Linked DNA regions of Homo sapiens: region 2 is linked to region 1. The links are contacts of gene promoters, found by promoter capture Hi-C in human tissues and cell types (Jung and others, 2019). All regions are on one chromosome and are shown on one strand. Each heading gives the region's core, a stretch centred on a gene start or on the middle of the fragment in contact. The rest is flanking DNA. Distances are from core to core; before and after follow the strand shown. Region 1 holds the start of EEFSEC (eukaryotic elongation factor, selenocysteine-tRNA specific). Region 2 overlaps RUVBL1 (RuvB like AAA ATPase 1).

Evidence for each region. The method cuts DNA at HindIII sites, captures the fragments that hold promoters and counts their contacts. A contact is called where the count stands out against the background at its distance.
Region 2: a contact is called between a fragment that was not itself captured here and the fragment with the promoter of EEFSEC in region 1, in 2 of the 25 tissues and cell types used here (H1 embryonic stem cells and liver).

The regions. Positions count from the first base shown.
Region 1 is chr3:128,149,799-128,156,465 of GRCh38, forward strand. EEFSEC (eukaryotic elongation factor, selenocysteine-tRNA specific) reads left to right here and starts at 3,683. Exons shown (of 7, transcript NM_021937.5): 1 at 3,683-4,025. The coding sequence starts at 3,710. It also overlaps a transcript of RUVBL1 not described here. RefSeq lists an enhancer at 3,314-3,543 and a silencer at 3,674-4,193. The HindIII fragment of the contact is 4,118 bases long and covers 3,296-6,667 here.
Region 2 is chr3:128,110,852-128,117,518 of GRCh38, forward strand. RUVBL1 (RuvB like AAA ATPase 1) reads right to left here. Exons shown (of 11, transcript NM_003707.3): 3 at 2,037-2,169. Among named protein-coding and RNA genes, the nearest start is that of RUVBL1, 9.6 kb to the right of the region's middle. The HindIII fragment of the contact is 4,437 bases long and covers 2,134-6,570 here.

The DNA.
Region 1 (6,667 bases), core at 2,433-4,932:
CAATCTCAGCATTGGTGAGATTCTGTTTTCTGGGGAAGTCTGGCTTTGGCCTCTGGCCAGCTTTCCAGAGCTTCTGCCTTTGATGCTTCAGAAGGCCACACCACCAGGCTAAAACCATACTTTGAAAGACATTTTCAGGATATGCTTAGCATGCAGCTTCTTCTCTTCAGCCCCACCTCGCCACGTGCCACATGGCTTAGGTTGCTGCTGTCTCTGAGCCTGCTGTTTTCTCTGTGCAGCACGTTCTTTCATCAATTTCCCTCGGTTCTGTGCAGCCTGGCCCTTCTCTTGCATCTTTGTCAGCTCAAATGCCTCTCCCTTAATAAGCATCCTCCTCCCTTGCACCAGTAACTCTCAGCCATGCTGCCTTATTTCTCCCAAAGCACTTCATCATTATTTGCCTTATTCATCCACAGTTGTATCCCTCCAAAATATCATGTCTGCCACACAGCAGGTGTTCAATCAATATTTGTTAGAATATTTGTTAGAAGATTTGTATTAGTCAGGATTCTCTAGAGGGACAGAACTAATGGAATATACATGGAATATATATATATCTCCTAAGCCCAGGCTACAGACTCTCAGGGTGAGAATTTCTGAGTCAGAGATAATGTTGTCCTCTTCCATCTTGGAATATGTATACATATATGTATATATATTCCATATATGTGTATATATATTCCATTATATATATATATATGTATGTTCCATTGTATGGAATATACATCCATATGTATATATGTATGTTCCATATGTATATATGTATATTCCATATATATATTCCACAGAATATATATATTTGACAGAACTAATAGAATATATATTCTATGTATATATTCTATACATATATTCTATACATATTCTATACATATATTCTATATATATTCTATATATTATATATTCTATATATATTCTATATATTATATATTCTATATATATTCTATATTATATATTCTCTATATATTCTATATATTATATATTCTATATATATTCTATATATTATATATTCTATATATTATATATTCTATATATTATATATTCTATATATATTCTATATATTATATATTATATATATATATTCTATATATATATTCTATATATATAATATAATATTCTATATTATATATATAATATATTCTATATATTATATATATTATATATTCTATATATTATATATTATATATTCTATATATATTATATATATTATATTATATATTATATATATAATATATATTCTATATTCTATATATTCTATATATATTATATGTTCTCTATATATTCTCTATATATCTATATATTCTATATATATTCTGTATATATTCTATATATATTCTATATATATTCTATATATTCTATATATATTCTATATATACTCTATATACATTCTATATATACTCTATATATTCTATATATACACTGTATATATTCTATATATATATACTCTATATATCTATATATAAAATCTATATATATTCTATATATAGATATATAAACTATATCAAGTGATCTGCCTGCCTCAGCCTCCCAAAGTGCTGGGATTACAGGCATGAACCACCGTGCCCAGCCAAACCTTTTTTCTTTTCATTACCATTTCAGGATTCTGTTTAAAACAGAGGTAAGAAATGAGGTTTATTTGAAGCCAGGCCCTGTACAAAGTCTTTGTTAGTTGAAATATTTCTCAGAGGTACATAAAGCCTCTAAAGCTCTTATTACCTATTTACTAACCCTCCCTTTTAAATACGTTTACTGCTTTTACTACTAGATTTTTTTTAATGGGAGGCGTATTTTTACAGTTTCCTATTTGCAAGGTGGGAAAACGGAAACAAAGATTCTGTTCTCTTCTTGTAAGGACCCTAATCCCATCACAAGGGCCCGCTCTCATGATCTCATCTAACCTCCCAAACGTCCCATCTCCAAATACTATCACACTGGGGGTCAGGGTGTCCACATATGAATTTGAGAGGGACACAATTCAGTCTATGACATGGACTCTGTTCCTAGTGGAGAGTGGTGGAACGAAGGAGGCAGTTACTGCAAGCATGAATACATCCGCACATGGTCTGGCTCATCACAGAGGGCAAAGGTAAGATCCTGTGAACTTTGTGCTCCACCGCCACAGTGTTACAAAAACACTCTCTTCTCCAGAAAAATGGAAGGAGGAGGCAATGTTGGGCTAGCATTCCTGCCTGGTATCACTGGCTGAGACTGAGCAGTGGCTTCCCTCTTTGCACAGGAAAAGGGCTCTCCAGGTCTCCCAGGTCCCCACCACTCCCTGTCATCTTAGACTCTTTTAACTTCTCTTCTTTGATTTACCCACCACCTGGCCAGAGCAGACACTTAGGTTTGTTACCTCTGGTTGGTGACTATGGCTGACAACCTTTTTTGTGGTTCTAGACACTTCAGAATCTAGTGAGAGTTGTCGACCCTCTGTCTAGCAAGAGCACATCACAACACATTGTGCGTTCAATTTAGAGGTTTGTGGCCTCTCCTAAGCCCAGGCTACAGACTCTCAGGGTGAGAATTTCTGAGTCAGAGATAATGTTGTCCTCTTCCATCTTCAAACCATCTTTTCCCATGGTTGGCTCCTTCTCAACACTGGAGTTTCAACTCAAACAGCAACTCCTAGATGTCTTCCCTGACCCACAGTTAGGTAGCTGTCCATCCTCCCTCTCCTGCTCCTTTTTATCTCAGCTTTTATTTTCCCTAGGAGACTTCTCGCTCTCTGAAATGGTCTGGTTCAGGCTGTATTGTTTGACTTAGCCCTCACCCCCTGAATGTAATATTAGCGGGCACTGTAGCCCAGCGGAACCCACCAGGCACTTGGTAAGATCTTGCTGAAATGTATGAATGATTGGAAGTGTGTCCGGAGTTGGTTTCTTCCAGTGGGTTCCTAGTCTCGCTGACTTCAAGAATGGAGCCGCGGACCTTCGCAGTGAGTGTTAAAGCTCTTAAAGATGGCACAGTCCCAAAGAGTGAGCAGCAGCAAGATTTATTGTGAAGAGCAAAAAGCTTCTGCAATGCGAAAGGGCACCTGAGAGGGTTGCTGCTGCTGGCGGGGGTGGCCAGCTTTTATTCCCTTATTTGCCCCCTCCCCCACGTCCCCCCGCCCTCCCCCGCCCCCCGCCGTCCCCCCGCCCTCCCCCCCGCCCCCGTCTTCCCGCCCCCCCCGCCCCCGTCTTCCCCCCGCCCACCCCGCCCCCCCCGCCCCCCTTCGCCCCCCCATGTTCCGTTTTTGTCCTATCAGAGCGCCCTTTTTTCAATCCTCCCTGTGATTGGCTTCTTTTAGGATCCTGCTGATTGGTGCATGTTACAGAGCACTGATTGGTGCGTTTTACAGAGCGCTGATTGGTGCATTTTACAATCCTCTTGATAGCTATAGAAAAGTTCTCCAAGTCTCCACTCACCCAGAAAGTCCAAATGGCTTCACTTCTCAGAAGGATCCCTCCATCTCGGGCTCCTAGAGGCTTCAGGCAGGAGGAGCCACGTGAGAGAGAAACCCTGCCTACGGTGACCTCCAGTTCCTAGACCACCCACTCGGAGCACGGCGCTCGGCTGTGCCCGTGAGCCTCAGGAGGGCGGAAGCTTCCGGGCCGGAACGGGTGTGCACAGCGCGCCGGTTACGGGGGGGCAACTTAACGGGCCGGACCGCGGCGACTACCGAGGGAGGTGAGGGGCGGGCCGGGCGGGTGTCCGAGGCGGCGGCGGCGGCATGGCAGGGCGGCGGGTGAACGTGAACGTGGGCGTGCTGGGCCACATCGACAGCGGCAAGACGGCGCTGGCGCGGGCGCTAAGCACCACAGCCTCCACCGCCGCCTTTGACAAGCAGCCGCAGAGCCGCGAGCGCGGCATCACGCTCGATCTGGGCTTCTCGTGCTTCTCGGTGCCGCTGCCCGCGCGCCTGCGGTCGTCTTTGCCCGAGTTCCAGGCAGCGCCCGAGGCCGAGCCCGAGCCCGGCGAGCCACTGCTTCAGGTCACGCTGGTCGACTGCCCCGGGCACGCCTCCCTCATCCGGACCATCATCGGCGGTGAGCGCGGGCCGGGGCGGGAGCCGGGCTCAGGGACGCGGGCGGAGCGACCGGGCCCCGTGTCCGAATTCGCTCGAGCCTTTGCCGGGACGGGAAATCGCCCCACCTCATTGGTGGGGCTCCTGACGCCCCAAGAGGCGGACGTGACTTGCCTAGGGCTCCGCAGCAAGTGAGCGGAGGCTTTGAGATTCAGCTTTTCCCATCCAGCAGAACCGAGCTGCAAGGCGCCTTCCTTAAAAAAAAAAAAAAAAAAAAATCAAAAAATCCCTACCAAATGTGTTTATAATACATGGTCAAGTAAAGAAAACTCAAAATAAGAAAACTCACAAGCTACAAAAAGGGTATACATACAAAGGCTGTCTTCATTCACCTGTCATTTGGTCTGATTCCCGTTCCTAGAGCCAACCGCTGCTACCAGTTTTTGTATATCATTTCAGAAAGGCTCCACGTCAATACAAGCATATCTGTGTGTATGTATAAATCCCTCTTTCCCTCATCCTTTTAGACACGATTTCACTCAACATTGTGTCTGGAGAGTGCCCCATATCTGTACACAAAGCTACATCATTCTTTTTAAAGCTCACATAGAATTCAACTGCACCCTTGTACCAACATTTTCTTTTTCTTTTTTTTTTTTTCTTTTTGAGACAGAGTCTTGTTCTGTCGCCCAGCCTGGAGTGCAGTGGCACGATCTCGGCTCACTGCAACTTCCGCCTCCTGGGTTCAAGCGATTGTCCTGCCTCAGTCTCCTGAGTAGCTGGGATTACAGGCGCGCGCCACCACGCCCGGCTAATTTTTTTGTATTTTCAGTAGAGACGGGTTTCACCATGTTGGTCAGGCTGGTCTCAAACTCCTGACTTCATGACCCGCCCGCCCTGGCCTCCCAAAGTCCTGGGATTACAGGCGTGAGCCACCACGTCCGGCCTGTACCAACATTTTCTGAACAAATCTTTTAATGATGGACGTTTATGCTGTTTCCAGTATTTACAAACCATTTTGCAGTGAATATTCTAGAACAGAACTCTTTGGTATGTTCGCATATATGTAGGATAATAGATAATAACTGGCTGGGGCAAGGGGCATGTGTGTTTTCGGTCGTGGTGGGTACTGCCAAAATGCCCCACAAAGAGGTACCATTAATTTTTAATTATACATGTAATACATGAATACATGCTACTTGTGAAGAAATAGAACATCACAAATAAGACAAACATTCCCTTACCCACTCCTCTGTCCTAAATTCTGTACCCCTCCTATCTCTGCAAATGAAAAGACCCGTTTTTTGTTTTTTTGTTTTTTTGTTTTTTTCTGAGATGGAGTCTCGCTCTGTTACCAGGCTGGAGTGCAGTGGTGCAATCTTGGCTCACTGCAACCTCTTTCTCCCCGGTTCAAGCGATTCTCCTGCCTCAGCCTCCCAAGTAGCTGGGACTACAGGTGCACATCACCACACCTGGCTAATTTTTATATTTTTAGTAGACATGGGGTTTCACCATATTGGCCAGGATGGTCTTGATCTCGACCTCGTGATCCCCATGCCTCGGCCTCCCAAAGTGCTGGGATTACAGGTGTGAGCCACTGTGCCTGGCTGAAAAGACCATTATTATACCTTTGTGGATTACTTTTCCAGACCCATTTAACTCCACTTAAATATATGGATAGAGTTTTAAAACATGTTTTGTTTTTAGAAAAAATGATACAATAATATAAACACATGGTATAAAAGGGTATATAGCTAAAGAAGTATACTTCTCACTGCTGACCCCAGTACCTGATTACCTTTCTGTTCCCATTTTCTTGTGTTTCCTTCCAGCAATATTCTGTATGCCACACATGGGAATATATATTGGGCAGATGATAATTGGCTTGGTGGCAGATGGCCTCATTGGTCACTGGGCATTCTGGGTCCCAGCTATAATGGTGAGCTTGTTAAGTACAGTACTTCATCTTTGTTACCTCCCAACTGTTTCATGTTACAGGCAGTCTGAGATCATTTCCCCATTTTACAGTAGAGGAAATAGAAGTTTGAAGAAGTGAAGGGACTTGCTCAGGGTCACACTATCTAAAGTCTTCTCCTCAATCCATGTTTCAGTCAGGTGAATTTCAAGGGGCACACAATTCTCTACCCATTCCTCCCTGCCCCCTTATAACTGAATTCTGTTTGGTCACATCAAAGTACATTTTAGAACATGGACTCTGAGCCAGTCCAGACTGGAGGTGGAAGGCAGAGGTTAAAAAATGAGATGGCGAGTTTTTAGTGTTGTCTAGTAAATAGGGTAGATGAGTGGTGAAGGACATACTTTTGGAGTCAGACAAAACTGGGCTTGAAGCCTAGCTTGCTTTCTTCCTTAGCTGTATGACGTTTGAACCTAATTCTGGACCTTGCTCCAACTGGAAGATAGTGGTAACCACACAACTATTTATTGGCTTGACTTTTCTTGTGTATTTGCTGCTTACCAGGCAAACCCTGCAAGGAGCGTGGTGGTTACCATTTAATAGTTGAGAAAATTGGGACTTAGGGAGGCAGGTAGTTAGTGAAACAGTCCAGGTCTGCCTGACTCCAAAGCTGGAGTCCTTTGCATGCTTCCCCAGGTTACCCTATAGTTCCCTCATCCGCTTCCAACATACGTGCATACCTCATGTTA
Region 2 (6,667 bases), core at 3,102-5,601, 38 kb before region 1:
AAACAACATATGTCTATAGCCCAGACATATTTTTTAGCTAAAGACTTCTGTTTTCATATTTTTTAGCTAAAGACTTCTGGGATTACAGGCATGAGCCAGGCACGGTGGCTCATGCCTGTAACCCCAGCACTCTGGGAGGCCGAGGCAGGTGAATCATGAGGTCAGGAAATCAAGACCATCCTGGCCAACATGGTGAAACCCCATCTCTACTAAAAATACAAAAATTAGCTGGGTGTGGTGATGCATGCCTGTAATTCCAGCTATTCAGGAGGCTGAGGCACGAGAATCGCTTGAACCCAGGAGGCTGAGGTTGCAGTGAGCTGAGATCACGCCACTGCACTCCAGCCTGGCGACAGAGACTCTCTCTCAAAAAAAAAAAAAAAAAGGCTTCTGTTTTCTAACTGCTTCAAAGTCTACCCACTTCTCTCACTCACTCAGAAGAACTTTCCTGAGCACCCACTATGTGCCAGGAACTGTGTCTACAAAGATAAGCACTGACCACTGTATCCCCAGGAGACGCTGAGTAAACACCCAACCTGCTCCCTCCCATTCTTCCCCATCTCCAAAAATGGCCAAACCTGGGAATTTTCCTCGACTCCTCTCTTTCTTTCAGCCCCACATCTAACCCTTTAGGAAATCCTGTCAGCGCTACCATGCAAACACACCCAGAATCCAACCACTTTGCACTTCCACTGCCACCACCCTGGTCCAAGCCACTATTTTGTCCTGCTCAGACTCCTCTCTGCCCTCACCCTCCTTACTATCCACTCCCAACCCAGCCGGAGGGGTCTGGTAAAAGCAAAACCAGAGCCCAGGGATACCAGCACTTTCTAACTGCTTCTCCTTTTGTTCAATGTAAAATCAAAAGCTTTAACCATGGCCCTACCTGATCTTACTCCGAAACTGAACTTTTTCATCAGTCTTTTAAGTTTCATCATTTCCTTGAAGTTTTCTGGTAAATTTCCTTCTTAAGAATACTTACTTTGGTTTGACAATGAAAGAGCCTGGAAACTGGTACAGGCACTCTGACTAGTGTTCATAACCCACGACTCAGCAGGCAAATCCTAGAAACATACTCGCACATGTGCACAAAGACACATAAAAGGATATTCCTAGTAGCCTTGTTTTTAAGAGTAAAAGCTGAGAATAAATCTAAATGTTCAAAAAACAGAAATGGCTTAATAACTGGACTTTTATGTAACAGTTAAAAGAAATAAGCTATTTCTATAAGCAGATCTGAGGGAAACTAGGACTTGCCCAGTGCTGTGCCAGCAGAAATGGGGCCAAAAAACTGCCCCAGAAGTCCTAGCTAGCAAAAAGCAAAAATTCGAAAGAGAAGCCATTTTCTTCTCACAGCCAATCTTCACAGCAACGGCTCTAGAAATGAGAAAGATGTCGGATCAAACTACTTCTGCCACTTACTAACTGGGTCCCTAGCAAGTTATTTAACCTTCTGAGACTGCTTCTTCAAATGCGAAATGTAGATTGATAATCTCCCCTCAGAGGAGGGAAGGCCTGGCTCATCACAGGCACTCACTATGATAGCCTGAGGCCCTAAGGGTTAGGCGCCATAAGCCTCTAAGCTCTGCCAGTCCCCACTCCTCAGTCTCCTCACTCTATGACAGGCCACAACTCTTCTGGCTCGCCATCCAGGACCAGGGGCATTCTGGCCACATGGCACACAAAGATTCTGGCTTGAGTCCAAAACCTTTTCAGTGGATAGTCATCTCTAATGGCAAAATAAGACTTCCAGGAAAATATGACTCATTAAAAAAACACTTTTAGACACATCTATTTATTGCATGAAGAAGCGCAGGCTCACAGCTAGGGTCCATAGTTGCTCCAATTGCTAACGCACTTCAATGAGAAAAACTGGGGTTTTGTTTTATTTGAAAAATAATGCACTACTAAGTGCCAAAAGAAAAACAGCAGTGCCACGAATACCAGTCATAAAGGCATCTTCACCACAAAGAGGCTTCGGTGCACAGGCTTCAGGAAGTGAGACCAACTCCTCCCACAAATGTGACACTACTTACCAATGGCCCTGCGGAAGTTCTCCATCAGCACCTCTGTCTTCTTGATCTCAGTTGAGTAAACTTCACTCCCCACCATTGGGCAGAAGGGGACCTTACTACCCAGCTCCTGAGCAATAGCCAGAGCCAGAGCTGTCTACAAAAGAAAGCAACGGAAACACAGTTCACAGTCCTGAAAACATGACAGTTCAGAAACACATGCTACAGAACCACCAGGAACTAGGAACAGCTGAACATCTAGTCCTACCATTTAGCATGTTTCACACAATAAATGTTTGATGACTTTTGTGGACAGTCAATTTAAATCATAAATGGCATCTCTTATCTTCCCTATAATTACAAGTTATCATTCACTCAGACTTACCCAGTGCAGGCCCAACTCCAAATGCCTCACATGATCCTCACAACCAGCCTATGAAATAGACACTAGTATTCTCCCCATTTTACACATGAGAAACTGAGAGACATTAAGTAATGCAACGTAAGTACCATAATCTAGAAAATGGCAGCGCAGATTTAATCTCTGGCAGCAGGACTCCAAAGATCATGTTATCATAATTAGAAGAGTCTACTCTTCAGTATCCACAGGGATACCAAAATCCATGGATGTTCAAGTCCTGGTATAAAATGGCAGGGTATTTGCATATAACCTATGCACATCCTCCTGTTACTTTAAATCATCTCTAGATTACATACAATACCTAATATAAATGCTATGTAAATAGTTATTATATTGTATTTTTAAGTATGTATTATTTTTGTTATTGTATTTTTATTTTTTATTGTTTTTTTCCTGAGTATTTTTGATTTGTGGTTGGCAGAATCCACATACGTGGAACCCACAGATAGGAAGGGCCAACTTTACAGTCATCCAAAATTGTTCTCTCAATATCAATATATGGCTCTGACCTAATTGCTCCGAATACACCACTGGATCTTTGAGATACCTGCTTTCTCTTTTTACAAATACAGGAAAACACCAATCTACAACCCATCAGAAATAATGAAGGAATGAATGAATGGATTGTTCATTTTATGTTATGTAGCCCACAAAGAGTGAAGAAGGATACCTCAAGTAGGATTTTGAAGCTATGAGTTGGTCTTAACAAGTTACACTTAAACACGCCCTGTGGTAAACTACAAATTGATTTTTGACAAGATAATTACAGCTGGCAAATGCTAAACAGAACCAGACTTCACAGGTGTACGGTCAAATGTCAAGTATGGCAAGCAAATGCTTTAAAGTTGGTACAGAACTGGGCAATGCCATGGCCTCTAAATGCCATTTTCATCTTTCCTCAACTCTGAAACAGGAGCACGAGTAAGGCCAGCTCCCCAGGTATATGGGCTAAGACTGAAAACAAGCTTGTTACTGAAGAACAAAGTGAAACTGAGACGGTGTCTTAAAATTAACAGTCAAGGTTCCTCTCAGATTTTCTTTTCTATGCCCTTTTGGTGATAGTTTTGAGGTAGTAAAATCTGGTAGAGAATCAGTGTATAGCACAGTATAAAATGCACTAGCCAGGAACAGAAAGATTAGTGCTGGTTCTGCCACTAATTTTCAGTGTGACCTTGGGCACTCAGCAAATCTCAGGTGCCCGATTTCCTCATCTGTCAAATGAAAGTACTAAAGTGCCATGCTAGATCACAAGTGGCAAACTCGTTGCTCACAGCCTGGTTCTGTTTGGCCTGCAGTCTCATGGTGACCTTCAGCAAGGCCGAGCACCTGGGGCTCAAGGCAGACACGCCACAGTGCACCCAGCCACTTCCCTCATCCCCGTTGCCTGCCTCATTAGGCATCTGCACTTGTGAGCTCAAGGCTGACACCTTGAAAACTGGTATTCTTCTAAGAGCAAAGGAAAAAAATCTCTGGAACATGAAAGGGCACAATGAGAGGAGCAGCACTCTAACAGCAGACTCCCCGTGGGGCCACAGGCTGGACAGGACCACCCCTTCCCAGTTACTCCTTTCTCTTCCTTGTATCTCTGCCAGCCCCAATTCCCTACCCTCAGTTTTGAACTTCAAAGACAGTGACCACATCCAATTCAATGGCACTCTCCCTCCCTTTAACTAATACAGAAGAGATGAACATACTTCCATTAAAATATGATAAATACTTGGTTAAAAAAAAAAAGCTTCATGTGTGTCTCGTTTCCTCCATTTAAAGACTTCCAGAGGGAAAGTATATGATATGGCTACTATTCCTACACCTACTACAGAGTGCTGCATAGACCTCATCGAATCTCCCCAACTAGCCTATGACCTTGATCATCTAGTTTGTATTTTATAGATTAAGAAACAAACTCAAAAGTTACCAACACACCCAAGGTAAAACCGCAAGCAGCAGCACCAGGATGCAAACCCCAATCTCCAAAGCCATTTTTTTTTGTACTCACCCCATGTGAGTGACAAGTGGCACAAAAAAGAGGTTGTTGCCAAAAGAAGGTTGAAGAAATCTCTATTTTTCAATCTCATCTGAATATCTCCTTCTTCTAAAACCCAAACCCATTATTAACAGTGTGAGGTCCTCAAGAGTGGAAATGCATATGAACCATGCATTTGCATCTCTAAAATAAGCAGTATTTCTGCCTGTCACCCAGGTAAGTTGCCTAAACTTTGGGACCCTGCAGCAAACCATTAAGCAGAAGTCACCAAATTCCTTCATACACATTGGAAGGGAGTGGACAAACTTATAAGGTAATACCACAGTGCTGAGCACTTCTCATATTTCCTGGGAGGAAAGCAATACAATATCACCAAAAAAAATGAAAGACATATGCTTCTAGCAATATGGCACACTGGGTCCACTGAAAACCTCTCCTCTTACAAAACACCTAGAATTGAATAAATAATAACATTCAGAGCAGTAAACTATTTGCCTTGAAAGTTCAGAGACTGTAGATACAGGAAAGCTCAGCAAGGTATAGCACTTAAGATAGAAACCCCTGAATAAAACCGGGACTGGGCACGGTGGCTCAAGCCTGCAATCCCAGCACTTTGGGAGGCCGAGGCAGGTGGATTGCTTGAGCCCAGGAGTTCAAGACCAGCCTGGGCAAAATGGCGATACCCCATCTCTACGAAAACTACAAAAATTAGCCAAAGCGTGGTGGTGTGCACCTGTAGTCCCAGCTACTCAGGAGGCTGAGGTGGGAGGACCACCTGAACCCAAGAGGTAGAGACTGCAGTGAGCCGAGATCACTGCACTCCAGCCTGGGTAACAGACCACTGCACTCCAGCCTGGGCGACAGACTGAAACTGTCTCAAAAAACAAACAAACAAACAAAAACATTACAATTAAAAAAAAAACATAAAAGAGGACTCTTGAAGGGCCACACATGAGTAAAAAAGGTGGGCCATAACAAAATACATCTGGGGGCCAGGCACAGTGGCTCACGCCTGTAATCCCAGCACTTTGGGAAGCCAAGGCAGGTGGATCACCTAAAGTCAGGAGTTCGAGACCAGCCTGACCAACATGATGAAACCCCATCTCCACTAAAAATACAAAAATTAGCCAGGCACCTGTAATCCCAGCTACCCAGGAGGCTGAGGCAGGAGAATCGTTTGAACCTGGGAGGCAGAGATTGCAGTGAGCCAAGATCACGCCACTGTACTCCACCCTGGGCAAGAGAGCGAGACTTCATCTCAAAAAAAAAAAAAAAAGACATTATAACTTGTAACAATTTATGCAGTGTGTAATCTTTGATTGCATTTTGATATTCTGGTGTTTTTTAAAAAGCCAAAAACTGAAACAACTTGGAAAGATGTTTTCTGATTTCTATCACCTATATTTTCTTTTCATTAAAACAATTTAACTTCGTTGTCTTTGAAAGCACATTTGTTAACTGCTCATGGAATCATATGATGAGCTGCCAGGCTCCCTCATCTTTGTGATTTCTCTACCACAGTGGATATGGTTACCTACTCCTTTCTTTAAAGGTTCTCCTTTCTTGGTTCCTGAGACACCATTCTCTCCCTGGCTCTGCTGCTCATTTTTTAAAAATTAATTAATTTAATTTTTAATTGACAAAAATTGGGGGAATATAATAGCATTAGCAAGGTGGGTCTGATGATGGCACCGTGGTCATGTAGGAAGACATCCTTACAACTTACTGTCAAGTGGTTCAGAAATAAACTAGAGAAAAAGCAAATGTCACAAAATATTTATAACTGGCTATCTAGGTATAGGGTATAGAGGGGCTCATCACACTATTCTTTCAAGTTTTTTGTAGGTTCCAAACTTTTCAAAATGAAAAGGAAAAAAATATTCAATAGATTGGATTAATCAGTCACTTAATCATAGCTTAAGAGACAATTAGACTGGAACAAAGATCTAAAAGAAATTACCCATAATTTAGCAGAGTCAAAAAGATAACAAATATGAGAGGCTAAAAGACAAAGAGGACAAAACGAGAAGCTCTAGCCCAGGGTTTCTCAGCTTGACTCCATGACGTTTGTGGCCAGATAATTCCTTATTATGGAAACTGCTCTGTGCACTACAGGATGTTTAGTAGCATCCCTGGCCTCCACCCACTAGATGCCAGTAGCACCCCCAACCAAGTCGTGAGAACCAAAAATGTCTCCAGACGTTGTCAAAGTCCCCTGCAAGGGCAAAACTGCCCCAGGTTGAAAACCAC